Regions from separate parts of the Homo sapiens genome. Here all the other regions are linked to region 1. Evidence: promoter capture Hi-C in 16 types of primary human blood cells and fetal thymus (Javierre and others, 2016). All regions are on one chromosome and are shown on one strand. The core of a region is centred on a gene start or on the middle of the fragment in contact, and the rest is flanking DNA. Distances in the headings are between cores, read along the strand shown.

Evidence for each region. Contacts are between HindIII fragments. The CHiCAGO score rates a contact against its expected background, and 5 or more counts as called.
Region 2: a contact is called between a fragment that was not itself captured here and the fragment with the promoter of ENO4 in region 1, in 1 of 17 cell types (M2 macrophages). The highest score is 5.6, in M2 macrophages.
Region 3: a fragment that was not itself captured here is called in contact with the fragment with the promoter of ENO4 in region 1 in 6 of 17 cell types (endothelial precursors, monocytes, M2 macrophages and 3 more); the score reaches 10.2 in endothelial precursors.
Region 4: a contact is called between a fragment that was not itself captured here and the fragment with the promoter of ENO4 in region 1, in 1 of 17 cell types (endothelial precursors). The highest score is 6.4, in endothelial precursors.

What each region holds. Positions count from the first base shown.
Region 1 is chr10:116,848,249-116,855,500 of GRCh38, reverse strand. ENO4 (enolase 4) reads right to left here and starts at 6,002. Exons shown (of 14, transcript NM_001242699.2): 1 at 5,770-6,002. The coding sequence starts at 5,934. It also overlaps a transcript of HSPA12A not described here. RefSeq lists an enhancer at 7,186-7,252. The HindIII fragment of the contact is 7,314 bases long and covers 2,862-7,252 here.
Region 2 is chr10:117,336,846-117,344,097 of GRCh38, reverse strand. PDZD8 (PDZ domain containing 8) reads left to right here. Exons shown (of 5, transcript NM_173791.5): 2 at 2,996-3,118. Among named protein-coding and RNA genes, the nearest start is that of PDZD8, 35 kb to the left of the region's middle. The HindIII fragment of the contact is 788 bases long and covers 2,078-2,865 here.
Region 3 is chr10:117,140,858-117,148,109 of GRCh38, reverse strand. No RefSeq gene overlaps it. Among named protein-coding and RNA genes, the nearest start is that of VAX1, 6.2 kb to the right of the region's middle. RefSeq lists an enhancer at 7,085-7,252. The HindIII fragment of the contact is 2,468 bases long and covers 3,406-5,873 here.
Region 4 is chr10:117,119,895-117,127,146 of GRCh38, reverse strand. It overlaps a transcript of SHTN1 not described here. Among named protein-coding and RNA genes, the nearest start is that of VAX1, 15 kb to the left of the region's middle. RefSeq lists an enhancer at 494-994. The HindIII fragment of the contact is 2,358 bases long and covers 2,824-5,181 here.

The sequences.
Region 1 (7,252 bases), core at 4,753-7,252:
ACCTCTCCGCGAGTATTCTTCCTGATGCCAGGATTAGACTAGCAGTTCTGTGAGAACTGCCCTGCCCTTACATACCGAGATATGGATTCAGCCCACTCCTGAGTCTCTGGTATGTGGGGCAATTTGGTGTATGTTGAACTCTCAACAGAAACTTGCATACGTTTCTTAATTAAAAGGCCCTGTGTCACTGATTAGCAGGCCTTCTTCAACAGAGACGGTCTCACTCTGTTGCCAGGCTGGAGTGCAGTGGTGTGATCTCGGCTCACTGCATTCTCCGCCTCCCAGGTTCAAGCAGTTCTCCTGCCTCAGCCTCCCGAGTAGCAGGGACTACAGGCGTGCGCCATCATGCTCAGCTAATTTTTGTATTTTTAGTAGAGATGGGGTTTCACCATGTTGGCCAGGATAGTCTCAATCTCTTGACCTCGTGATTCACCCACCTTGGCCTCCCAAAGTGCTGGGATTACAGGCTAGCAGGCGTTCTTATAGTCAATTCAGTTGCCTAAGCTATCCCTCTTTTCTTTTTCTTTCTTTCTTTTTTTTTTTTTTTTTTTTTTTTTTTTGAGACAGGGTCTTGCTCTGTCAGCCAGGCTGGAGAGCAGTGGCACCATCACGGCTCACTGCAGCCTCAACTTCCCAGGCTCAAGTGATTCTCCCACCTCAGCCTCCCGAGTAGCTGGGACCATAGGCACACGCCACCACACCCGGCTAATTTTTACATTTTGTAGATACAGGATCTTATTATGTTGCTCAGGCTGGTCTCAAACTCCTGGCCTCAAGCAATCCTTCCGCCTCAGCCTTCCAAAGTGCTGGGATTACAGGTGTCAGCCACTGTGCCCAGCCCCCTTGTTTCAAGATACAGAAACCAACTGGTCTCTAGAACACCATGACGCATTCAAATTTCAGAAACCTGACATGGGCTGAATTTTTTTTTTTTTTTTTTTAAGACAGAGTCTCACTCTGTCACCCAGGCTGGAGTACAATGGCATGATCTCTGCTCACCGCAACCTCTGCCTCCTGGGTTCAAGCGATTCTCCTGCCTCAGCCTTCCGAGTAGCTGGGATTACAGGCGTGCACCAAAACGGCTGGCTAATTCTTTTGTATTTTTAGTAGAGATGGGGTTTCAACATGTTGGCCAGGCTAGTTTCAAACTCCTGACCTCGTGATCCGCCTGCCTCAGCCTCCCAAAGTGCTGGGATTACAGCCGTGAGCCACCGCGCCCGGCACATGGGCTCATTTTTATTCCTCCCAGCAAGGCACGTGATATTTTAGTGGTGAAGACTTACGTGACGGCTGTATCTTACCATCAGCTCATTCATAGTCCTATGTGTTCAAGGAGGCTTGTTGGGAGCCTTAGTAATTGCAGTTTCATTGAGGTGGAAAAGCAGAAGCCATTTGGAAGTGATCTAAGAAGGAGACTGAAGAAAGAGAAGCTGAGATAGAAAGCCCACTCGAGAAGCCTGCAAGAAAACGCTCAGGAAGGTGTTTCTGTGCAGAGGAGCAGGAGCTAGGAGAGACTAGAAGGAGGGAAGGTGAAGGCACACCTTTATTGCTCTCTTGATTACCAGATAGGACTGGGCTTTGCTTTCATTTAGCAGACACCAGGTCTCTGATCTTTCAGTTCAAAATCCAGTGACTTCAACCTGGACAACAGGTCATCTAATACCCACAGCGACATGCCAGTTCAGAGGTGGGGCCCCAGAAGTATTAAGCAAGAGCTCATTTTCAAGCTATCCGTGGATTCTTTAAATGGTGGTTTGTATGTTACAGAGTAAGTGCCTAAATGAATTTAGAATCAGGAGAGCAAAAATGTTATTTAGCTTACACTCTGTGTGTTATAGTGAGTTCAGTTTAACAAGCACCAAGCACCTATAATGTGCCGCGTGTTGTGTTAGGAGAGGAAAGGAACTAACATTTTTGAAGTGCTTAATATGGGCTGTGAAAGAATGACTTCTTTATCACTATATCTCAAACCACAGGGCCTGACATATATAGGATTCTATAAATTAAATCTCGTATAAATTAATAAATGTCAGTGACATCCCTGGGCACTGTATATACATTATGTCATTACATTCAACTCTCTAAGCTATGTGATATCATCTCCATCCCACAGATGGGCAGACAGTTCCACAAAAATTAACTGTCCAAGATCACTTAGCTAATGTTTTCATTATCTACTGCTTTGGTTTTTTTTTTTTTTTTTTTTGAGACGGAGTCTCACTCTGTCACCCAGGCTGGAGTGCAGTGGCACAATCTTGGCTCGCTGCAAGCTCCGCCTCCCGGGTTCACGCCATTCTCCTGCCTCAGCCTCACGAGTAGCTGGGACTACAGTCGCCCGACACCACTCCCAGCTAATTTTTTGTATTTTTAGTAGAGACAGGGTTTCACCGTGTTAGCCAGGATGGTCTCGATCTCCTGACCTTGTGATCCGCCCGCCTCAGCCTCCCAAAGTGCTGGGATTACAGGCGTGAGCCACCGCGCCCGGCCATTATCTACTGCTTTGTAACAGACCACCCCAAACCTTGGTGGTTTAAACCATTAACTTGCTCATGGTCCTGTAATCTGGGTGGGGCTTCAACTGGGAAATTCTTTTGCTGGGCTTCTCTGGAGTCCCTTATGCAGATGTAATCATCTGGAGGCTTGACAGGAGCCAGCATATCCAAGCTGTTTTCACTCAATGTCCAGTGCCGTAGCTGGGATGGCTGGCACAGTGAGGGGTTGGCTGGGCATCTATCTTTCTCACAGGATATCCTGAGGGGTCTCGTATCTGCCAAGGTCTTTCTCTACACAACCTCACTCTTTCCAGTAGGGTAATTGGGACATCCTCACAGCATGATGACTAGATTCCAAGAGGACAAGCTTCCATATGCCAGCACTGATCAACTCTCTGTTTGTATCGTGTTTGTCAAGGTCCTATTGATCAAAGTAAGTGACATAGCCAATTCCAGAGTCAGTGTGGGAGGGACTTACAAAAAGGTGTTCACACTGGAAGTGTAGTTTCTTGGAGGACCATCAGTGTAACTCTATCACAGTGAGGAAGTGGCAGAGATAAGAATCAAAACCAGATCTGCCACATTCCCAGTCCAAAACTCTCTCATTCAGTTTTATGATGATGGAATAAATTGTATTGTTATTGCCTACAAGGATCTTTACCATGTGTGAATTCCTCTAATATGTCTGTCTTAGTTTGTTCTCACACTGCTATCAAGGACTGCCTGAGACTGGGTAATTTATAAAGGAAAGAGGTTTAATTGACTCACAGTTCTGCACAGCTGCAGAGGCCTCAGGAAACTTACAATCATGGTGGAGGGAGAAGCAAACACATCCTTCTTCACATGAGGGCGGGAAGGAGAAGTGCAAAGTGAAGCGGGGAAGCCCCTTATAAAACCATCAGCTCTCATGAGAAGTCACTATCACGAGAACAGCATGAGAGTAACCACCCCCATAATTTAATTACCTCCCACCCGGTCCCTCCCCACATGTCATATGTGGGGATTATGAGCAGTACAATTCAAGATGAGGTTTGGGAGGGGATAGAGCCAAGCCATATCAATGTTGGAGAGGGACAGAAGAAATGACATTGGAGCTGAACACTGGAGGAGGTATAGTGTTTCAGTGCCAGTCAAGGGGGAGATGTGGTGAGCAGATATTTCAGGGAGAGAGAATGGGACAAGCAAAGAGGAGGGAGGTAGGAAACTTCTGGCTTTGGGGAACAGTCAGTGATTCGGTGTAGAGGAGGAGGGCAGGGAGTGGGAGATGCGCCTGTTACCAGAGGGAGGGGCTGAGCACTGTGAACCACACACATGAAGGCCAGCAAGCACGGGAAAGCCACAGGAGGTTCTGAGGAAGAGAAGTGTGGTCAGACTTGCATGTTAGGACACTGCTCTGGCAGCATTCTGCAGGATGAACTAGATAGAGGGAGAGACGAGGTGAGAGTAAGCACGGCCAAAACTAGGGCAGTTACTAAGAAAAGGAAAAGGAGATTGCTTTTTTCTGTTTTTCTTTTTGAGACGGAGTCTCGCTCTGTTGCCGAGGCTGGAGTGCAGTGGTGCAATCTCGGCTCACTGCAACCTCCGATTCCCAGGTTCAAGGAGTTTGCTTTTTTGCCTCTGCAATTCCTGAACATCCTTCGAAGTCCAAGCCAAAGCCTTCCTGGATATACAGCCTCCAAGGATCTTTTCCATCCCTGAATTCCTTTAATAGGCATATAGGGATCTGCCCCTCAATCTAGCACACAGTCATCTATCACCTTATCTTTTGCTCCAATTATTTTATGTATTAGTGACTTTTGTCCCAAACTAAGATGTAAGTTCCCAGAGAGCTGTACAAACGAATATCCTGGCTGCCTAATAGAATAAGAAGATCATTATACTGGGGAACAAGAGTCCATGTTTTTAGTCCTAGCTTGTACACTAAGTAGCTGTGAGACAAAGACTTGGTGTCCCTGTAAAATGAGGACGTTAGAATAGATTGTGTTCAAGAATTCCTCTAGCAACAGATAGTAGGAAGAGAATGGAATGAGAGTCAAGCATTCACTCATTCATCCTGCAGGTAGTTTCTCAGCATCCACTGTGTGCCATGCACTCTGCTGGGTACTAGGGACACAAATGTGGTTTGATTTTTTTTCTTCTGTCACTATGTCCTTTGGGAAAATCATTTAAATTGCACTGGCCACAGGTTCTTTATTTGTAAAATGGGAATCATCATTTTTACCTCGTCGCAGTGGTACTGAGGATTGAGTTACAGTACGCAGCACAAGGGGCTCAGTAAACCCCACACCTCTCCCCTTTGATAGTATAGGCCATGAGTGGGAAAAAGTCATTCGCGGAACATCCTTTATATCAACTGCCTCAATACGACGTGGTTTTGCACCCTGACAGCACATCTGCCTCTTCATAGGACTCCTTCTGCTTGGTGTTCACATTGCCTCCTTGCTTTGCCTTGCCATAGTGCAAACTCCTAGGGGCCCCAGCCACACTGCCTTCCTTACTACTTATAGATCTGGAAGGGAGAAAACGTCTTTGCTTCAGCTGCTCACTGCTTAACGCTAAGGTATGTGCCAGATCTCAGGGCTGGGCAGAGACCCGGAAGGTGAGAAGACAAGGCTTCTGAGCCCAGCAGGGGCTCACAGGCTGCCTAGGGAGGCTGCCTCAAGAGACTACAATACACGAAGGAAATGCTGTAGGAACCCAGAAGGACGGTTGGTCCAGGGCTACGTGGGCAAGGCTTTGGTCTGAATTTTGGAGTTTAGGGCGGGGCTGGTCAGATATTAACTGGCATCCCGGCAGAGGAGCCAGTAGGATGAGGCCCCAGAATAGGCTGAAGCCAAGTTGTAGCAAACGCCAAGGTGTTCATCCTGTGATCAAAGAGGAGCTGCTTAAGGTCGGTGAGCTGAGCTGAGGGCATTAAGGTATGTGTTAAAAATGACAATTGGCAAGCATGGGCGGTGGGCCGGCCCACAAACGGAGAGGCCTCTTAGGCAGCGAGGAAGCCTGCCAGCCCCTGGGCTGCCGCTGCAGGTCAAATACGCCTAGCGCCCTCTTTCCTCCAGCTGCCTCCTTTCTGCCACTTTCTCTGGGGAGATCCCTTCACCCCTGGGTGTCCTTCCCGCTCCTTCCCTCCAGAAGTCTCCTCCGCACACGCAGGCCCAGGGCCCGGGCGGCTGGCATGCGAGATTCTGAGGCGCAGGCGCAGGCGCAAGGCGTTGCCGCAGCGCGGGGCGGGGGGAGAGGGGTTGGCGGGAGGAGAGCGCTTGTCCCAGGTCCCTACCAGGTGCCCGTAGACGTCGGCAGGCTGGAGGTAGAAGGTGGAGTTGAGCAGCTCTTCCAGCCTGCGCGGAACGTCGTTCTCCCGGTAGTACTCCATCGCCTGCTGCTTCAGCTTCTGCAGCTCCCTAGTGGTCCCACAGCTGCGGCCGCCGCCTTCTTCCTCCATGGTAGGAGATTTAAGGCTACAGCGGGGTTTAGCCTGGGGTCCCACGAGCGTCCCTGCTGTCGCTAGGCAACGCAACGTGATCCCGACCCCCAGATCTCGCGTGGCTTCCAGGCCTAGGTTCTTCCTGCGGTAAAAGTCGTTCCCTTTTATTGGAGCTAGGATGGTATTTGCGCTCGCTGCTCTGTCTTTTCTCCCTGCGGCATTAGGTCCGGGGGTTGGGCTCCTCCTAGACTCCCGAGACTAGGGCCCTCCCGGCTTCGTTTTTCACCACTTTTCCCTGGCGATTTTCCAGAGGGGGAAATCTTTAACGACCTCATCAAGCGCGTTTTGCCGGAGCGCGGCAGCCTTAGCTCCGAATTCCGGCTGGGGTCGCGCGCTCGGGTCCCAGTGGCCCAGCGTCTTGGGCCACCCCGCCCTCCCCACGCGCCCCCTTGCTCTCTGCTGTTAGTGAGCTCCTCCGGGTTGCTAAGGCCGCCCGTGCCAGGCAGGCCCACTCTGTTGGGGGAGGGATGTAGGGGCTCAGGGCATCCTTACTGAGCGGTGGCGATCTCAGGAATTCTTTCATTCGGCTCATGTTTATTAACTACCTGCTCTGAGCCGAGCCGTGTGCTGGCTGGGCCTGCTATGATGTCCAGGAGAGAAACGGCCACTTGCCCTTCTCTGGGATATTAGTGGGGGTGAAATCAATGGAATGAAAAAAACCAGTGTGGGTTGAAAATATCTGGGGTGAACCCTAAGGGATGGTTGTGGTTTGGGCAGACCTAAGGATGGGGGATGATTCAGGCAGGACTTGGGGAGGTAAAACGGAAATGGGGGAATGGCCTTGGCTCACGTTCCCTCTCCAGAATGCTGCCTATGTCCTTGCCCTTTTCAATCCGAAGTGCCTTCCTGGCTTCATTGTACCTGCCAGGTATCATGCGATTACAGAACTTAGTGTGCGTCCTCAGTTCTAGATACTTCCTCTGCTGCAGGAGTGGGCGGCGACGGACAGGGTGTTCTTGTTCCACTCACGCCTGTTTATGTTTCCTACCTAAGCAGATCAGTTACAAGATCTGTGCCACACTTTCCCCCCTCTGGAAAACATCATCTTACCTCCTCTGCCTGTTTCCCGAGTCACTTAGTACAAAATGAGGAAGTGAGTGAGAAAGCACTTTGAAACACAGTTATTTTCAATACATGCACGTATGGGTGCAGATGCATAAAAATGTGATGCTATAAGTACTGTTACACAAACCCAGACATGCACCTTCCAAACTTCCTCCGTGTTCTCTCTGCTCTCTTACGGAACGTCTCACTGTCTGTGTGTAATGGACCATCA
Region 2 (7,252 bases), core at 1,222-3,721, 490 kb before region 1:
AGTTTGTTAAGACTATTTTGCGGGGAAGCCTGAGTGAGAAAACTGACATTTTTGAGTTAATAGGTTAATTAGGAAATAAAGACTAATGGATTTTGAAGAAAGATGATATGATGGAATAGGAAGATAAAAGAAAGTGATAGAGGTAGCCCGCTTCATTGTTTGGATTCTTTATGGGTTTGGGATACTTAAAGACTTGGACTTAAAAATTCTGAAAACCAAAGGTTCTTAGAGAATGTTAATGTGTGGATTCTATTTATTGGCTTGCCGAACATGTTCATGCTTTATCCCACCGTTTAGTATATTCATTTAAAATGGAATACGTTGTTCTGATTTTAGATTATTTTTGTGCATAAACACTCTTAGCAAAACCCCCTGAGCATTAGTAAATCCAAATTAGACTTTAATCCATATAACATTCAACTCATACTCCTGTGAGAAATTTTATTGAATTTTGACTTTATATTTGACAAGGAAAGCTGGTTCTTAGAGCAGTTGTGATTTAGCTAACTTGGATTATTAAATTCAAAGTTTCTAGTGTATATGGTTATTATAATTTTTTTACAAACTAACAGTTATATGTTTTTCAGGAGTCATAAGGACTGTGTGTTAAAAGCACCCAGCTACAACATTATATTGATATAAATTTAGTTACTAGTTTTTTTCCCTCTAAAAATTTGGTGCCAGTCTGTCTGAATCAAATGACTTCAAATGCAAATTAGCGTTTTAGTTGGGAGAAACTCGGGGGGCTTTCTGCTTTCCATACTAGTTTAGAAACAGGAGAAAACCACTGAGCATCGCCTGTGTCCCTACTTAACATTTCCTTAAAATTTTTTTCTTTAATCTTACTTACTGGGAAAACATAAAACAGCATTTAACCCCCTCTATTAGTGTCTTTCAGTATAAACTATAGTAGGCCATTGATATTTTCTAAGTGTTTATTTCAGTTTTAGTGTTAACTCTTTGTAAATCAGCGCAACACATACTCAAATCCTGATAGTGTGTGAAACATCCCGTCAGGTATGGATGATGGATGCAGAGAATTGTGAGACTAAGTCATATTTGACATTTTAAGGCATAAATGCACGCAATTTAGAGGACTGCAAGATAGAGAAGAGTGAAAGCAGCATGTATGGCCGAGTGCGAAAGAGGGGAGGATTTGGACAGGCTTTGAGGAATCTGGGAAAACTTCCAGTTGGTATGAAAGGCCTGAAGGCAGGAATATTCATAGTGTCTTCTGGGCATATGAGGTGACTTTCTAGATTGGAATGTTTATATTAAGAGAATATATGATTAGAAAGATTAATTGTGGGCTGGGTGTGGTGGCTCAGGCCTGTAATCCCAGCACTTTGGGAGGCCATGTGGGAGGCCGAGGCAGGCAGATCACTTGAGGTCAGGAGTTCAAGACTGATCTGGCCAGCGTGGCAAAACCCCATCTCTGCTAAAAATACAAAAATCATCCAGGTATAGTGGTGCATGCCTGTAATCCCAGCCACTTGGGAGGCTGAGGCAAGAGAATAGCTTGAATCAAGGAGGCAGAGGTTGCAGTGAGCCAAGATCGTGCCACTGCACTCCAGCTTGGGCAACAGAGCAAGACTGTGTCTCAAGAAAAAATAAAAAAGGAACATTAATTGTGGTGGACCTTAAATGTGAAACCAAGAACTTTTGACTATGTGTGTGTGTGTGTGTGTGTGTGTGTGTGTGTGTATCTGTTTGTGTGGTCAGTAAGAAGCCACTAAAACTTTCTGAGCAAGTAGATATCATGGCTAGTGACAATGTGTAGGGTGAATTGAAAACCACGGGGCTTTAAGCCCAATTTTCTTTCATTTTCTTTTTCTTTAGCTTTAATGGAGGAGTATGAGTTGTGTTTTAAATTAAAAGTTTTTTAAAACCTACAGTTTATAACTCAGCACAAACTTCTCCATAAAAACAACAATATTAGTGATGAGCATATGAATGCCTGGATAATTCATAGGTAACTGAGGTGTTATATAGTTGGACTTTGGAATTAGACTAGCTTGAATTCTGGTTTTGCCATTCACTTTGTAAAATTGAACAAACTTGTTAACCTTCCTAAGCTTCATTCTTTTCATCTGGAGAGAGGAGCCAATAATATTGCCCTCTTCAGGGTTGTGAGCATTAAATAAGATAATGCATGTAAAAAGCACTTAGCATACTGCCTGGCAAATAGTAAACATCTCTAATGAATATCTCTGCTGTGTTAATTGTTATTGATGTTGCTATTACAGTCATCTTTATCATGTACTAATCACTGTCTGTAATAGTCAGCTCTCTGTATTCGTGGGCTCCACATCCATGGGTTCCACATCCATGGATTCAAACAACTGTGGATTGAAAATATTTTTTAAAAATTTAATCTGCGCTGAACATGTACAGACTTTTTTCCTTGTCATTATTCTCTGAACAATATAGTCTTAACAACTATTTACATAGCATTTACATTGTATTAGGTATTATAAGTAATCTGGAGATGATTCAAAACATATGGGAGAATGTGTATAATGCAGATACTGGGCCATTTTATATTAGAGACTTGAGCATCCTGGGATTTTGGTATCCTTGGGAAGTACTGGAACCAATCCCCCATGGATGCCAAGGGGACTGTATATTATTTCCATGGAACATGCATTCTGAATTTTGATCTTGTACCGTAGGAACACTCTTCCCATCTGGTTCACAGTCTCTCTCCTGCCCCACCTAAACTTCATGGCCTACTTGCTGCCTCTAGGCTTTTCTTTTCTTTGTTCTCTCTTGCCTTATCAATGGGGGCATACCAAAAAACCAAGACTTATGGGTGCCATAGCGAAGGCACCATTTGCTGCCAGTTATGGGGGAGTGTGGTAAGCTTTGGTTTTGTAGAGCACGTGTAGTATTAGGTGTTCATTTTGCTTTGTGTTTTTGTACAGGTGAGTTTTGTTATGCTTTAAACTGTGGTGTTTATTATTCAGACATTTAGACTTATCTTTACTTTTGTCAGGTTTAAGCCGTTTTTTCCATACCAGACCTTGCAAGGATTTGAAGAAGATGAAGAGCATATCCATATACAACAATGGGCACTTACTGAAGGCCGTCTTAAAGTTACGTTGTTAGAATGTAGCAGGTATGTTCTTTGTTTTGTCATTACTAAGTTACGGGAAGAACAGTGCAGTGAAAATATTCCTAAGCAGTATTTGTGTTGTGTGTTCATTTAAATTATATTATTTACCTGTAAATTCTTTAATTGTAAATTTAATATCATAAAAGTAGTCCTTTCTAACTTTAACAAATATAAATCATATTTTAGAAAGTGTTTTAATGGAGGGAGAGGCATTTACTCTGTAGTCATTCTGACACTATTTAGATGCATAGTGCTCTGTTGGCTTATTTTTAACTTATTCTACCTACTGGGGAGCTGTTCCTATGTTAAAGAGAAAATTACTCAATGATACTTATTAAAGCAGAGTAAGGAAGTCTTTATTCAGGACCATCATGATAAGTATAGCAGCCACTGCAGTGAGGTCTTGAAGTGGGTGAGAGATTGGGCTCAACTCTGAATACAGCATGGGCAGGTGGAAATTTATAGCCAAGAAGCAATGTGGGATCAGTGGATGGAAACTTACTAAGAGGAAACATCAAGGGTAAAGGGGATTTTGGCTAAACCGACCTAACAGGATTCTTGCTAAAAACAGTCCAGGGTGATCAGACATCATGGAGGATGGTAAAGGACGATCAGATATCAAGGATAGGGGTTTCTTGCTAAACTGACTTCGCAGAGTTCTTTGCTGAAACTGGACAGATGGGCCTAGCAGAAGATTCAGAAACCTCAGTAAAGTTTGGCCTGGCAAAGAATCTTTGTCACCTATCAAAACGGTTTTGAGAATTGTTTGTGATAATTGGAAACACTCAGGAAAGTTGCAAAACTAGACTTTGAACCACTGTGGATTTTTAGCGTTTTAGAACTGGAAGCGATCTCAGAAATAATCTTGCCTAGCCTCCTTGTTTTACTTTGCCAGCACCAAAGTTTAAGCTATATTCATATCTTGCTTGAGCTACTTACTATACTAGCCTTCATATCTCCTAGTCCTCTGGTCCCCAATATAACAACCAACATGATCTTTTCAAAATGCAAATCTAATTGTCAGTCTCCTAGTTAAAACTCTTTAACAGCTTCCCCATTACTCTTAGGATGTGGACCCAAATCCTCACCATGACACACAGGTTCCTCTTAGCTCTCCAGCTTCAGTCTCACCATCCTCCGCCCAGCCCCTCATTCATAGTGCTTCAGCTACATAGGCCTTCCCAAGGCAAGGTGTTGGCAGACTGTTTCTCTAAGGGGCCAGATAGTACATTTTAGGCTGTGATTCACATGCTCTCTGTTGCAACTATACAACTCTGCCTTGCAGTACAGAAGCAGTCACAGATAATGTGTAACTGAATGAATGTGGCTGTGTGCCAGTAAAACTTTGTATATGAATTTTGTAATTTTCATATGTTATAAAATATTCTTTTGATACTTTTCAACCATTTAAAAACATAGAAACCCTTGATAGCCCACAGGTTATACAAAACAGGCAGTGGACTGAATTTAGACCATAAGCTGTAGTTTGCCATTCCCTACTTAAATATTTTAAAGCACCAAGCCCATTGTGTTGACTAGCTGCTGCTTTCTTGGCCCCCTTCTCTGCTCCATGAAGCCAACCTTTCTTGGTTTGGTTCAAAAGCTACCTTCTTAATGTATCTCCTGATCATTCCAAGTACAAGTATACTATCCTCCGGCTACATTTCTTTGACACTTGTTTGTACCACTTACTTGGTACATATGACTTTTATTTCCAACCCATAATACAATTAAGTACTTGAGCACACAGGTTATATTTTATATCTAATACATTTGTGTCCTTGCTAATGGTTAGGTTAGTTTTGAGTATACTAATAATATACTTAATCCTTTTTTTTTTTTTTTTTTTTTTTTGGTTAAGTCCAGGGTGACTCAGGATTGTGTATCATTATGTTAGAAAGCCTGGTAGACAAAGAATCCCTTTTTTTTTAAATCAAAAAAAGACTAAATATGTTGTCTATTTTGTAAAAGGAACTGCAGTGTACAGTAAAATACATATAATAGGTACTATGCTAGGTATTTAGAAAATACTAGTTCATTTGCTTTAATGTTGCTGGTGGGGTTAGGTATTGATTATATGTCTGTTAGCTTGTAGCTATTTAACCACTAGCTTTGGTGTCAGCTTTGCTCACCACATTTTTGCTTTACCTGCAGTACTGCTCACTTAAAGCCTTGCTACAGGAATCAAAGACTGCATGTAAGGCATTGAGAAAGTATAGCCAGACATTCTTTAGGTCATGTTGAGATAAATGAAAAGAAAAGCATTAGAATGTGTGAAGTACCTGTAACCAACTTTATTTTAATAAGGAACTGTGTAATAAATCTCTGAAAGGATAAGTGAGAAACCAATAAGAATTTTTACGGGGTATACAGGGAAGGAACTGGGTTGATGATGATGGACAGGGGTCAAGGTGATAGCCCAGCTATTCACTATAAACTTGTTTATGTTGTTTTATTTATCACCTGGTCAAAAATTAAGGTCCAGTATTTTTAGAGAGTACATAATTAGGCTGAAGGGAAAAACATGGAAAAATAGTTTTTTTAATATCTGAAGTTATGTAACTGTCGGCTTAGGTTATATAGCCAGCACCTTTCCCCAAGTGATAGATTCATCTTGGGAACAAGTACACTATCTAGAGATTTCCTTGTGCCATTTTTACAAATCCAAGCATGTAAAAGTTACTCAGTGTTGTGGTACTGTGTTATTGTTTACATAGTTTAAGAATTATTTGTGTATGAAGGCAAGAGTAAGTCTCAACTCATTCCTGCTTTTTTGTCTTCGTATTAAGTCCTAACATTCTTTCCGTTAAAAACTTAACGTTACTGTTTTTCTTGTAAACTTTTTTCTTAGTATAAAAACAGAAAACTCTGTTCAGGTAGATTTTAAGTTTATAGGATTCAAACTAAAGAGGACATATTACTGTAACCTAAGCATTTTTATTTCAATAGTTAATCTCATTTTGAATATAAATTCAGCTTGTGTGTTTTATTCTAATTCCTGAAGCAAAAAGAGGCACTAGAGAAAATGAAAGCACAAATAACAGTGCTTTCTTTTTGGAAGAAGGACCAAAAAAATGCTTATTACTTCATATATAGTGGAATAACATAGACTTTTGAGTTATAGAAAGCACTGAATTCAATCTAGCCATATGCCCTTATATAGTGTCACTAGGCAAGTTACACATCTGTGAAATGGGCAAGGGAGCTACTTTGCTGGTAATTGTAATCAGAGATAGGCAACTACCCACAATGCCTACCACATAGGATACCTACAGTAGATGTAGCTTCTATTATTATGTCTCAAGATAATCGTTGCAGTATCTGTGAAGAAAAAACGGCATGTTTTTTCTTGCATATTTGTTTGTGAGAATTGGAATTTGAATTTTATTAATTTAAAAAGGTCTCATATTGTAAAGGGAGGTTCTTTCCTAACTATCTGAAATACTGTTTCGCATTTCCCAAGCAATAGCTTGAGGGTGGAAAGGCAGTATTATGTGTAAAAATTGGTTTTCACATTTTGCTTTTGTCAAGTATTTTTTAAAAAGCAGTCATTCTGAACAATTGCATGTTTTTTTGAGTTGATGAAAGCTGATTTTTTTTAACCACAGATGAATGCAATGGCTGTTTGTCGTACTGCTAGTAGGTGAAATTATTTCACATTAGTGTTGCAATCAGATTGTTAAGATGATTATTTTTAAATTTATAATTTATAGTCTATCTTCTGTCTTGAAGGATAGAAGATATTTGAGATATTTTGCAAAGAAAACATGTAAGCATGTATACTTAAGCAGAAGATATATTAGATCAAAAACATGGAAAAGAGATCAATTTTCTGGCAGCTAAGACAACAAAGGAAACTTTACGGATTAGTTAGATCTTACTTTTTTTTTTTTTGAGATGGAGTCTCACTCTGTGGCCCAGGCTGGAGTGCAGTGGCATGATCTCGGCTCACTGCAAGCTCCACCTCCTGGGTTCACGCCATTCTTTTGCCTCAGCCTCCCAAGTAGCTGGGACTACAGGCGCCCACCACCATGCCCAGCTAGGGTGTTTGGTCTCACTGGATTTCAATATTACATCTTTTTTTTTTTTAAGTTTTAAATGTTAAATATAACACAAATACAGAAAACCACAGCAGTT
Region 3 (7,252 bases), core at 3,390-5,889, 290 kb before region 1:
TTTCTCACAAATAGCTAATAGTCTTTCTGTTTTCTTCCCCCCTTTTGTAAATATTAGCGAGTGCCCACCATGTACCAGGTATTCCCCTCCCTCTGGGTCTTCTTTTCTTGTCTGGGCTGATGGTTTTGCTGAGAGATCTTGGATGGGTCATTTCATCTCTGCTTTTCATCCCTTTACCTGTGTTTCAGGGGAGCCAACACAAAATACCTGGGGATGAAAATATGCTCATGCTCAGTTCTGTATTCCTTCATCAAACATCTCACCTTGGACAGCTTTAAGTAGTGAACCAAGGAAAGTCCATGTTGCTTGCATTGTTTTCACATGGGTATAGTTCTGCTCTTCAAAATTACGGTGTTGGGGGATAGAGCTCAGTGGTACAACAATCGACTATAAAATTGCAGTGACTTCTCCTTTACTGTAAAGGAATAAGGTGTCACATACATAATTTTTCTGAGTTTGTTTTATGTTACCTCTGAAATGAGTTATGTGCTTCTCTGCCTTCTTAAACGAAATGCAATGTAATCTTTTAAGGGTCACTTCCTGAATATCCACTGCCACACTGCATTCTACTGCATTCATGCCCTCAAGAGCACTTGAGGTTGCAGTTACTTGTATCCAACCAAAGTGACCCCAGAACCTGATGCTTTTTTGAGTCAGTTGTTTTTTTTTTTATCCCTCTCCAAAACTTGCTGTTGGTGGATATTCTTACTGTCTTCAGTGTTCCTGCTCCAAACACAACTCTCCCTTCCCATTTGTTGCCGCTAATCTACTGCAGGCTGGGAAATGGGAGAATTATACTGGTTAGAATTAGGTCAAAAATAAACATGAATAGACTAGGCACAGTGGCTCATGCCTGTAATCCCAGCATTTTGGGAGGCCGAGGCAGGTGAATCACCTGAGGTTGGGAGTTCAAGACCAGCCTGGCCAACAAAGTGAAACCTGGTCTCTACTAAAAACATAAAAATTAGCTGGACGTGGTGGCAGGTGCCTGTAATCCCAGCTACTTGGGAGGCTGAGGCAGGAGAATCACTTGAACACAGGAAGTGGAGGTTGCAGTGAGCCAAGATCATGCCACTGCACTCCAGCCTGGGGACAGAGTGAGACTCTGTCTCAAAAAAAAAAAAAAAAAAAAAAATTAGCTGGGTGTGGTGGTGTGTTCCTGCAATCCCAGCCACTTGGGAAACTGGGGCAGGAGAATCTCTTGAACCCGAGAGGCAGAGGTTTCAGTGAGCCACTGCACTCCAGCCTAAGCAACAAGAGCGAAACCTCTGTCTCAAAAACAAAATAAAAATAAACATGAATAGACTTTGAATGAGGGACTGAGAAGGTCCCCTATGAGCAAAGAACTCAAGTTGAAATGTACAGACTCTGTGATATGCCGATTTTAACTGCTCAGTGGCACTGTCTTCTTCCTTTTCCAGTTGGGGCTCTCTTCTGGATGGGGTGAGGTTTATAAAATAAGTGACTTCTGAGCAAGCATTCCTACACACTGAAATAAAAATACTTCATGATTTTGATACAGGGAGTTCTTAGAGACTTGCATGGAGTAGGTGTCACTACCTGCTTGTTGAATAAATGGCTCCAGCAGCTTTTCATGCAGTAAGAAATTTTAGAAAATGATGGGTTTAAAGACGCTTTGAAACACAAATGTACTCCTGTTAGAAAGATACACATTTATAAGTCAGGTTTCCTAGAAAACCTCAAATTCTTTGTGACCCAGAAAATGTTGTAATAAAATCAACCTTTTTTTTTTTCTCCCAGAATGCTTCATCTGGAGAATTTCAAAGAGACAACCAACCACCTGTTGTCAATTTCCATTCACCACCCTAAGTGTTAATGTATCTCTGGTTTCCTAAAGGTGAGAGCAGAACGTGTTCATTTTCATCTTTGTTTTTGAAAAACAGAAAGAAAATTTAGAGGTCTGTACCCACCTTCCAGTGAGATGCCTCCTTTCAATTTCAAGAGGTGAGATCTTGGCAGAGATCACTTTTGCCTCTTTCTTCCTTCCTTCCTTCCTTCCTTTCTTTCTCTTTCTTTCTTTCTTTCTTTCTTTCTTTCTTTCTTTCTTTCTTTCTTTCTTTCTTTCTTTCTTTCTTTCTTTCCTCTCTCTCTCTCCCCTTCCCTCCCTCCCTCCTTCCTTTCTCTCTCTCTCTTTCTCTTTCTCTTTTTTTTGAGATGAAGTTTCGCTCGTGTTCCCCAGGCTGGAGTGTAATGGCTCGATCTTGGCTCACTGCAACCTCTGCCTCCCAGCTCAAGCGGTTCTCCTGCCTCAATCTCCCAGGTAGCTGGGATTACAGGCATGAACCACCATGCCCAGCTATTTTTTTTTTTTTTTTTTTGTATTTTTAGTAGGGACAGGGGTTTCAGCATGTTGGCCAGGCTGGTCTCGAACTCTTGACCTCAGGTGATCCTCCCACCTTGGCCTCCCAAAGTGCTGGGATTATAGGCTTGAGCCACCATGCCCGACCCTTCATTTCTAACTCTAACATTTTTATTCTTTATGGTTTTAAGACTGACATGTTATGATTTTTATTAGTTCAGCCTACATTAGGTAATGTCTGAAATAAGGAAAGAACAAAAATTTAATTTGTGAATTATTCTTCAGAATTTGGTTATTCCATAGGAGGCACTGTGTAGTTCGCTGGTTATGATCATGGCTTTTGGTGTCAGATGGTCCTGGGTTTGAATCTAGGTTGTCTCACTTCCTAGCTCCTGACCATGGACAAGTTGCTTAGCCTTTCTGAGCCTCAGTTTCTCATTCACAATATGGATGTTTCAGTTACCTATTGCTGTATAACAAACCTACCCAAAGCTTAGTAGCTTAAAACAAAACCACCTTATGTTTTCTCCAGATTCTATTTGGACAGGGCTCAGCATGGGTGGTTCATCCGTGCCTCACATGGTATTATCACGAACCCTCATAAGGCTGAATTCAGCTGGAAATGGAACATCAAAGATGATCTCATTCACATGAATGGAAGTTGGTGCTGTCAGCCGGGGTGCTTCAGTTTTTATGTAGCCTCTTTTCCTCTCACAGTCTAGACTGCCTTCCTTACAGCATAGCAGCTCGGTTCTATGAGAGAGCAAGAACAAAAACTACCAGACCTCTTTAAAGCCTAGCCCCAGACAGAACAAGCACAACTTCCACTTCATTTTATTGATTATAGCATGTCACAAAGCTCCACCTAATTCAGCAAAAGGGAATAGACTCTACCTCTTGATGGGAAGTATGGCAAAAGATTTACAGCTATTTTTAATTCAACACAATGGGTATACATAATTCTTCTTTTCTCAAAGTGCTGTTATGAGAAGTAAATGAGATAATGCTAGTCAGTAAGTCCTTAATAAGCACAAGCTGTTCATTACTGTTTTACAGTATTGAATAAGTATGAAGCCAATCAAGCTTTGCCATGGAGTACCTGGACCAATCAGTTACCTTGGTTGACTCTTAGTTCCTTCTTGGTATCTCTGGTTCTATTTAACACAATGCACCCGGGTTCTATGGCTCCATAAGAGATGCTCAAATAAAGACTCTAATAGCAAATATTTATTGACAGTGTTCACTGTGTGTCGAGCACTGTTTTAAGCACTTTTGTTACATAACAACCCTACAGTATCAAAGCTAACCTTATTCTGCAGATAGACTAATGAGGCACAGGGAAGGAAACTGACCTGCTAAAGCCACATGCCTAACAGGTAAGGGACCTGGGGTATGGATCTATAAATCAGGAATCCTGACTAACTCCAAAACCCATGTTTGTATGATTTGTTGAATAAGTGAGCCTATAGAATTAATGGGGTTCCTTTTAACTCTAAAATTGTATGATGTTTCCAAGTACAAAATGTATATGTAATCGATGAAATAGTTTCTTGGTACAAAATGCTAAGTTGAGAAATGGAGGCCAATGGGATTTTTTGCTTGACTTGTAGACAGAATAATTCAGAATTTAGCTGTCTACACATTGGCTAATACTCTAGCTATAATTGGTAAGAAATATCTGGATATATGGCTGCATTTTCCACTTTGGATAGTCAACATTGGTTCTTATTTCAAGTGCTTCCCCAATATCCCGACTATTTTCTGTGAAATGGGAATAGTGATAATTCAATGAGATTGAATTCATCACCACTGGCAACTTTGATTAGAGATGAAAGTCTCTGTATAAATGCTAAGTGTTCTTCCCTTTAATTAATTATTGTTATCAGGTACCCTGATTCATTGTTACAGAAACTTAATTTCTGATTGTATCATCTCTTCTGATGCAGTCCTTCTTAAAATGGTGTCTCAGACATTAAGTTATGCTGTCCCTAAACCGCTCATAATCTAGGATAATCTCAGATTTTTTTTCTGCCTGCAAGTTGTCCCCTCCTACTTCTTTCTGAAATAAAAAGTGAAGATGGAAAAGGAAAGCACTCTGTGCCACCTCGGATCCTGCTTTCTGTGACTGGAAGCAAGTAGGCGGGGGCAGGGAATATGAAAAGCATCCCCAAAGCTCAGATTGTGATTTAGCTCATTTTGATGGCATCATTTCACCCAACCCCAGACAGTGCATCTTGTTCGGGTTTCAAGAAGCCTGGGTGGAGGTGGGAATGTAGCTTTGAGTCAGGAGACCAGGAATGTAGCACAGAGGCCCCCACTAACTAGTTGTCTAATCCTTAACAAGTTGCTTTGTCTTTCTGGGCTCATTTTTCTCATCTGTCAAGTCAAATGAAGGTTATGGAATAGATGATCTCTAAAAATCCTTCCAGTGCTACAGTTCTATTCTGGGTCTGTCTGCACCTGCAGACAGTGATGTGGGGGCAGGAAGGGCACTGGGGAGGGCGGCAAATTTAGTCAAGAGAATAAAACACTTTCACCTGGTGCAGCCTTGTGTCCTTGTGTGTGTTGTGCAGTACAGGCTTGTCTCAGATTATCCAAATAATTGACTGAGTTCTCTTCTTTCTTTGCCAGTGAGCACACAGCTTTAGTTTTTTTCTGGGACTAGCAGCTGCTTTTCTGAAATTTCCATCCCAGGGCTTCCGTCCTCCACTGTGTCCTCTCAGAAACCTGTCATGGTTTTTCTGGATGGATGCCCACAGAATTTTAATCCAGACACACACACACACGCACACACACAGAAAGAAAGAAAGAAAGAAAAAAGAAATGAAAAAGAAAGGAAGGAAGGAAGAAAGGGAGTAGAAAAAAAGAAAAAAGTACCATGTATAACAAAAAGCAAAACCAAGTTAAGAGTTGACTTTCTTTTTTAATTTGGTTATTTCATTTGTGCTGCCAACCTGAAGCCATGACTAACCTAAAGCCAGTGAGTTCTCTTAATTACTGGGTTTGTCTATGATGATGCAGAGATGAGGCCCTGTATGCCTTAGGGGCTACCTGGGTCCTGGCACCTCCAAACTCTTGGTAAATGTCTGCTTAATTAAATTCGTTGTTTTCCCAGAATATCCCATTTTCTCCTCCCCCTCCCCCTCCCCCTCTCCTCGTCCTCCTCCTCCTCCTTCTTCTTCTTTTTCTTCTGATGGAGTCTTGCTCTGTCACTCAGGCTGGAGTGCAGTGGTATGATCTCAGCTCACAGCAACCTCCACCTTCAAGGTTCAAGCGATTCTCCTGCCTCAGGCTCCCGAGTAGCTGGGATTACAGGTGCGTGCCACCATGCTTGGCTAATCTTTACATTTTTAGTAGAGACGGGGGTTTTGCCATGTTGACCAGCCTGGTCTCGAACTCCTAACGATCGGCCCACGTCAGCCTCCCAAAGTGCTGGGATTATAGGCATGAGCCACTGTGCCCAGCCAGAATATCCCATTTTATGCCTTTCCTCAATAAGCATTTTCATGTCCAGTAAGGAGGGAGGGATGGAAGTCCCTGCCCGCAGGAAGCTTAGCAGAGTCACCGAAGTTTAAAAGGTGAAGTTATCTAACTCAATTTGTGAAAGATCCTTTGGTGAGCCAGCTAGAAATGCAAATTCCTGGACACTGCTCTCAGATGATCATTCTGTAAGTTTGAAACCCAGGAAATGATTTTTTACTCACCCCCAATCAGCTAGTAGATGAGTGATAAACTCCTAATAAATGCTCATGGCCAGAAATAAATAGCATCATCAGAAACAAGAATTTCATGATTCCATTTCTACTTACTGTTGTTTAGATAAAATTTGTGAAAATTGATGTCTAATAATAAGGATTCCTCGCATTAACATTAAAGTCATTGCTCTGTGTCTTTTTGATACACACATGATCACCTGAAGATTTGGAAAATTCAAAGCAAGTATGGGTTTGGAACTAAAAATGGGGCAGTCTTGTGGGGTGTGGCAAAGAAGAGCATAAATAGCTTTGAAGTCAGGCAGAAGTCAATTCAAATTCTGCTCATACCAGTCTGTGTGACTTGGGCAAGTTACTGAACGTCTCTCTGAGTCTCCATTCTTTCACCTATAAAACCGGAATATTACTACATCTCTGAAGGAGGAGTTCAGATTAAGTGAGTTTATGCATCCAGTAAGTGACTGCTTCATAAATAATTCCCCTGGACACGTTGGCTCACGTCTGTACTCCCAGCTACTCAGGAGGTTGAGGTGGGAGGATCGCTTGAGCCTGGGAATTCGAGGCTACAGTGAGCCGTGATGGTGCTACTGCACTCCAGCCTGGGCGACAGAGCGAGAACCTGTCTCAAAAATAAGTAAGTTTAAAAAACAAACAAACAGGCTGGGCTTTGTGGCTCATGTCTGTAATCCCAGCACTTTGGGAGGCCAAGGCGGGCGGATCACGAGGTCAAGAGATCGAGACCATCCTGGCCAACATGGTGAAACCCTGTCTCCAATAAAAACACAAAAATTAGCTGGGCGTGGTGGCGCGCGCCTGTAGTCCCAGCTACTCAGGTGGCTGAGGCAGGAGAATCTCTTGAACTCGGGAGGCGAAGGTTGTAGTGAGCGTAGATCGCGCCATTGCACTCCAGCCTGGCGACAGAGTGAGACTCCGTCTCAGACAAACAACAAACAAACAAACAAATAGTTCCCCCTTACAACAAAATATGCCACAAGATGAGGGAGGGCAGAAATTTCCGAGGCCAAACTTAAAATTTGCATTTGGGATTTGGCCATACTTTGGCCGTTCTCTGTGGCAGTGAATGCGGCTGCAGACGTCCCAGCGCCGCCATTGCCCACAGGGCGTGTCATTTCTAAGGGCAGCTGTTTGTTCCCTGACTGCCCCCGCCCCGCCCCCCAGCTCCCCCATCTACCTAAAAGAAAATGTAATGGGTTGGGCC
Region 4 (7,252 bases), core at 2,753-5,252, 270 kb before region 1:
GTGAGGGTTGCTTGGTGAAGTGGCAGCAGAAATGGAGAGGAGAAATGGTTTCAAGGCATTTTGCTTAAATAAAACCAACAGATCTTACTGTCTGACTAGAGGTGCCCGGTGGTAGCATTGATATCAAGATCGGGTCCGAGTGGAATTTTGAAACCATTTTCCTTGTATCAGAGAGGGAATTTGATCAGAGAGCCTGAAGCCAATAAGGGTTTAGTGGGGGTACTGGAGGCCGAGTTGGCTCCAAAGCTGGGGAGATACCTGTGAATTGGGGCAGAGGCCTCAGCCCGGAAGGCAGGAGGGCCCAAGGGCGGGAAAGGCGTGGAGCCTGCGCCATGTGAGCCATTTGGCATGCACAATGGGGCATGCGTGCTAGGAGGCGAGGCGAGGGGCATGCGTGCTAGGAGGCGAGGCGAGGGGCATGCGTGCTAGGAGGCGAGGCGAGGGGCATGCGTGCTAGGAGGCGAGGCGAGGGGCATGCGTGCTAGGAGGCGAGGCGAGGGGCATGCGTGCTAGGAGGCGAGGCGAGGGGCATGCGTGCTAGGAGGCGAGGCGAGGGGCATGCGTGCTAGGAGGCGAGGCGAGGGGCATGCGTGCTAGGAGGCGAGGCGAGGGGCATGCGTGCTAGGAGGCGAGGCGAGGGGCATGCGTGCTAGGAGGCGAGGCGAGGGGCATGCGTGCTAGGAGGCGAGGCGAGGGCCAGGTGCTAGGGCTAGAAAGGAGGCAGGGCTGGCGCTCTAGGGACTCCTGGAGCTCTCCTCCTGTGAGCCTGGACCCGGCACCTCACGCAGCCCATCTCCCACAGCTTCCGTCGACGGAGGCCGGGGCCTCACCAGGAAAGTGGTAAGTTAGGCCTGCTTTGACGGTTTTAGCGGCAGGGCCCCGACCCACGCTGAGTCCGGCTCCCGTGCTCTCTTGCCAGCACGGGCAGAAATAGGGACTGAAAATACCTTCCTGGGTCCGGCCCTTAAGACGCCAGCTGTGACCCAAGGCAGTGGAGCGGCGGGAAGTGACGTCAAGCGGCGGCAGCGCCCCCTGAAAGGCCCCTGCCAGCACCTAGCGCTCCGCCCTCCAGACCCACGCCCTTGACCCCCGGCTTCTTGCACTGAGGGAAGCAGCGGCATGGGGGCTGAGGGGCTTGCTAAGGGTGCACAGGACGGACGGAGTGCCAGGTTTTTGTTTTGGTTTCCTTCCCTTGCGTCTCATGGGTTAGATAAGACTGCCATGTGTTAGATCGGTGGCCAGAAAGTCAGGTCATCAGCCCATTTTACTGAGGGTCTGGCTTAGTCCCTTCCCGGGAAGAGCTAAAGGCAAATTCAGTTTTCTGTCCTAGTTGTCAGCTGATGCGAGGGAAAGTAAGCACAGTGGAGTGGGAGCATTATTGGCAGGGATGGGCAGACAGCCTGTAGAATTCTGAGATGATCAAGAAGGTATTTGGGTTCTTAACCAGGGCATCCCAGGGAGAAACGGAGGGGAGAGAAAAAGAAAAGGAAATGATGTGAAGGAGGTGGGGGTCTCACATCGAGTAGAGGTGTAAGATAAGGCTTGCAAAGTGGCCTGGTCAAGGAAGGGCCTGAAGACCAAACTAAAGATCTCTATTCTGTAGGTGAAGGGGAGGTTTTGGGCAGGGTAACGATGGGAGGAAAGCCCAGTTACAAGATGAGATGGGTGCCGACAGGTGAGAAAGGTTAGTAAACAGATTGGTGTCGAGGTCTGGGATTAAGCTGCAGGTGGGGAGGATAGAAAGTAGGTAGGTGTCTCATCAGTGATGGGATGAGAAACAAGTTAGTTAACACATTAATGCCAACATTTGTTTCTAGACATCACCATTATTTTCGTTTTAAGATCCTCTTTCCCTGAGCTGCCTATGACCGTCTCTGTTCAGAGACCAGTGGGAGGGTGGCAAATAAGTTCAACTCTAGTGCTAAGTTGAATTATTTGATGGTAGCTGCCTGGGGATACTAAGTTGTGGAGGATTCTGAGGCCTCCGTGGAAAAGTATGCTGATCATTAGTGATGTCTGCCAGCATCGGAGGGGTTCTTGCAATTCTGAGACAAATATAAGTGGCTTTGAGGCCAGGTTGCTTCCCTAGGTTCTGAGTAAGGAGCTGGGTCCATGTTTGGCTCAGCAATTTTTCTTAGCCTGGGCAGGTCATGGCAGAGTAGGAAGCTGTTTCCAAGTAACTCGGGGCAAGGTTCCCGCAGCAGGTATCCCAGTCATCACCTTAACCCCCACAATATAGCAATAGTAGGAAAACTTGGGCTTTGAATTCCACCTTTGACTTTTATTGGCCATGTGAACTTAGGCAAATAACTTCTTTCAGTCAGAATCCTCATCTGTAAATAGAATTATTACTTTTATTTTATCTTATTTTTTGAGACGGAGTCTCACTGCATCGCCCAGGCTGGAGTGCAGTGGTGCGATCTCAGCTCACTGCAACCTCTGCCTCTGGGGTTCAAGCAATTCTCCCTGCTTCAGCCTCCTGAGTAGCTGGGATTACAGGTGCCCACCACCACGCTCGGCTAATTCTTGTATTTTTAGTAGAGATGGGGTTTCACCACGTTGGCCAGGCTGATCTTGAACTCCTGACCTCAGGTGATCGACTCACCTCGGCCTCCCAAAGTGGTGGGATTACAGAGTAATTCAATGAGAAAAGCAAAGTGCAGCCTGTTTTAAAGATGTAGAGCCTGAGACATGGAGAATCAATGTGTCAGTGAAGGGATTATAATTTGAACTTTATTTTTCTGAGTACTGGTATACCACTCTGAACATGATGCTTAACTCCTGAGTTTTGCTTCACTGTCAAATGTGCTCTACCCTCAAGCTTTTCCTCTGAATTCAGGGTCCACTTTTTTCATTGCCTGAGGCTCATTAACCCCCAGGTTAGAGTCAGGACCATCAGTGACACATCTGAAGTTTGGCTTTTTTTTTTTTTTTTGAGACATAATCTTGCTCTGTCACCCAGGCTGGAGTGCAGTGGTGCAGATCATGGCTCACTGCAGCTTCAACCTCCCAGGCTCAAGGGACCCTCCCACCTCAGCCTCCTGAGTAGCTGGGACTGCAGGCATGCACCACCATGCCCAGCTATTTTTTTATTTTTTGTAGAGACAGTGTCTCACTGTATTGCCCAGGCTGGTCTTGAACTTCTAGACTCAAGCAATCCTCCCACCTTGGCCTCCCAAAGTGTTCGGATTACAGGTATGAGTCACCGTGCCTGGCCAGCAATTTTTTTTTTTTTTTTTGTGAGACAGGGTCTTGTTCTGTCACCCAGGCTAGAGTGCAGCTGCAGCAATGTGATCTCGACTCACTGCCTCTCGGGTTCAAGCAGTTCTCGTGTCTCAGCCTCCCTAGTAGCTGGGATCACAGACATGCACCACTACGCCCAGCTGATTTTTTTTTGTATTTTTAGTAAAGATGGGGTTTCACCGTGTTGACCAAGCTGGTCTCGAACTCCTGGCCTCAAGCAATCCACCCACCTTGGCCTCCCAAGGTGTTGGGATTACAGGCGTGAGCCACCGTGCCTGGCCAGCAATCCTTTTAAGAGTACTCTGGCAGTACATTAGGAACAGTAATCAAGCATGCAAAATTAGGTAGAGATAATTTGGAATGTAGGTAGATGTTGGGTGACCCCCAAGGTCAGGGGTCACTTATGTCATTATTGGAAGTTAAGGGGTGTTAATTACTCACTACCTTTTCTTTCTGTCTCAAATCAACTGCAAACTAGGTGCCACATAGGGTTCCAAATTTAAGTGGCATCAAATGGCTCTCAAAGTTGTCTCAAAGTTGTCTCTTCTGGAATTGAATTTACCTGTCTAGTCACAGGTAGAGAACGGGAAAATGAAGAGTGGAAAGGGATAGAACCCCTGCCTTTTAAAGAACCCACGTATTGGGAGGCCGAGGCAGGCAGATCACCTGAGGTCAGGAGTTTGAGACCAGCCTGACCAACATGGAGAAACCCCATCTCTACTACAAATATAAAATGAGCTGGGCTTGGTGGTACATGCCTGTAATCCCAACTACTTGGGAGGCTGAGGCAGGATAATTGCTTGCACCCGGGAGGCAGAGGTTGCAGTGAGCCGAGATCACACCATTGCACTCCAGCCTGGGCAACAAGAGCGAAACTCCATCTCCAAAACAAAACAACCCATGTAGTGGTTCAGTGAATGGTAGTGCTCACCAATCAGATTATCTTCTTACTTTTCTCTTGAATTGTAAGAGTCAGAGGCAGAGTCACCTTTCTCAGAACTTCCCTAAGAGGGTAGAAGCATTGGCTAAACTGCCTTGTATAAAAATGTAATAAAGTACTTTAATTATTATTTTTCTTAAGTTTAATAGTATATGAAGAGGTTGAGAGTTCTCACTGTTCTCTTGAAGTTGTTTTTACTGTTGGAATTGCTGTTCCTAGATTGGTACATAGTAGACAATTTAACATTTGTTGGACTGATTGACTGGAATCACAAAGTTAGTTTATTAGGACAGCTTATTTGGGTCCCTAGGATTTCATAAGTCATGTCATGAAAATATATCCTTAAAAGTATTGTCCTAAGAGATGTGAGGTGATGCCTCATTGTGGTTTTGCTTTGCATTTCCCTGATGATTACTGATGTTGAGCACTTTTTCATATACCTGTTTCAACTAACTATGGATCGAAAATATTTTAAAAGACAATAGGGCCAGGTGCAGTGGCTCACACAAGTAATCCCAGCACTTTGGGAGGTGGGGGTGAGAGGATCGCTTGAGCCCAGAGTTTGAGACCAGCCTGGGCCACAAAATGAGACTCTGTCTCCACCAAAAATAAAAACGTTAGCTGGGTATGGTGGCATGTGCCCGTGGTTCCAGCTATACGGGAGGTTGAGTTGGGAGGATCACTTGAGCCCAATAGGTTGAGGCTGCATGAGCAGTAGCAGTGTTCATGCTACTGCACTCCAGCCTGGGTAACAGAGTGAGACCATGTCTCAAAACAAACAAACAATAAATAGCAATATGAAAATAAAAAATAAAGTAAATACAAATACAGTACAACAATTATTTACATAGCATTTACATTGTATTAGGTTATTATGGGTAATCTAGAGATGATTTATTTCTTTATTTATTTTTATTTTATTTTTATTTTTTGAGATGGGGTCTTGCTGTGTCGCCCAGGCTGGAGTGCAGTGGCGCGATCTCAGCTCATTGCAAGCTTCTCCCCCTGGGTTCACGCCATTCTCCTGCCTCAGCCTCCCAAGTAGCTGGGACTACAGGCGCCTGCCACCACGCCTGGCTAATTTTTTGTATTTTTAGTAGAGACGGGGTTGCACTGTGTTAGCCAGGATGGTCTCGATCTCCTGACCTCGTGATCTGCCAGCCTTGGCCTCCCAAAGTGCTGGGATTACAGGCGTGAGCCACCGCACCCAGCCAAGATGATTTAAAATATACAGGAGGGTGTGTGTAAGCTATATGCAAATACCATGCCATTTTACATTAAGGACTTGGACATCCTCTGATGGGGGTGTTCCTGGAAACCACCCCCATTCATACTGAGGTATGACTGTATATAAAACATGTATAAAATTTATAATTTTTTTTTTTGAGTCAGAGTCTCACTCTATCGGCCAGGCTGGAGTATAGTGGCATGATCTCAGCTCACTGCAACCTCCGTCTCTGGGGCTCAAGCAATTCTCCTGCCTCAGCCTCCCAAGTAGCTGGGATTACAGGCGTGTGCCACCATGCCCGGCTAGTTTTTTATATTTTTAGTAGAGGCAGAGTTTCACCATGTTGGCCAGGCTGGTCTTGAACTCCTGACCTCAGGTAATCCTCCCACCTCGGCCTCCCAAATTGCTGGGATTACAGGCGTAAGCCACCACGCCTGGCCCAAAATTTAGAATTGTATACGTAATCTATAGCTATAAAATGTACACAAAATATAGATTATAGGAGATTATACATGTAATCTCCTTTGATCTTCATAATATCTTTTTTAAACAATTTTTTTATCGATGCATAATAGATACATAGTTTTGGGGTACCTGTGATAATTTAATACATTTATATAATTTGTAAATGGGCATGGTCATTCATGCCTGTAATCTCAGCACTTTGGGAGGCTGAGGCAGGCAGATCACCTGAGGTCAGGAAGTTGAGACCAGCTTAGCCAACATGGGGAAACCCCGTCTCTCCTAAAAATACAAAAATTAGCTAGGCATGTTGGCACACTTCTGTAATCCCAGCTACTAGGGAGGCTGAGGCAGGAGAATCGCTTGAACCTGGGAGGTGGAGGTTTCAGTGAGCTGAGATCGTGCCACTGTACTTCAGCCTGGGCAACAGAGCAAGACTCTGTCTCAAAAAAAAAAAAAAAATCAAATCAGTGTACTTGGGATATCTATCACCTGAAATATTTGTCTTTTCTTCTAGCTATTTTGAAATATACCATAGATTACTGTAAATTATAGTCACCCTGCTCATCTATCTAACACTAGGTTCTGTTTCTTCTACCAAACCATAGATTTGTTGTTTTTACTTTTTTATTTTTAATTTTTGTGGGTACATAGTAGGTGTATATATTTATGGGATACATGAGATGTTTTGATATAGGCGTGCAATATGTAAAAATCACATCATGGGGCCAGGCGCTGTGGCTTACGCCTGTAATCCCAGCACTTTGGGAGGCCAAGGGAGGCGGATCACAAGGTCAGGAGTTTGAGACCGGCCTGGCCAATATGGTAAAACCCCGTCTCTACTAAAAATACAAAAAAATTAGCTGGGCGTGGTGGCGGGTGCCTGTAGTCCCAGCTACTCAGGAGGCTGAGGCAGGAGAATCGCTTGAACCCAGGAGGTGGAGGTTGCAGTGAGCCGAGATCACGCCCCTGCACTCCAGCCTGGGCAACAGAGCGAGACTCAGTCTCAAAAAAAAAAAAAAAAATCACATCATGGAAAAATGGGATATCCATCCCTCAAGCATTTAACCTTTGTGTTACAAATAATCTAATTATACTCTTTTCAGTTATTTTTAAATGTACAATTTATTATTTACTATAGTCACTCTGTTGTGCTATCAAATACTAGGTCTTATTCATTCTTCCTATTTTTTTTGTACCCATTAACCATCCTTACCTGCCCCACTGCTCCCGACTACCCTTCTCAGCCTCTAGTAACCATTCTTCTACTCTCTAGCTCCATGAGTTTAATTGTTTTGATTTTTAGATCTCACAAATAAGTGAGAACATGCTAAGTTTGTCTCTCTGCGCCTGGCTTATTTCACTTAACGTAATGACCT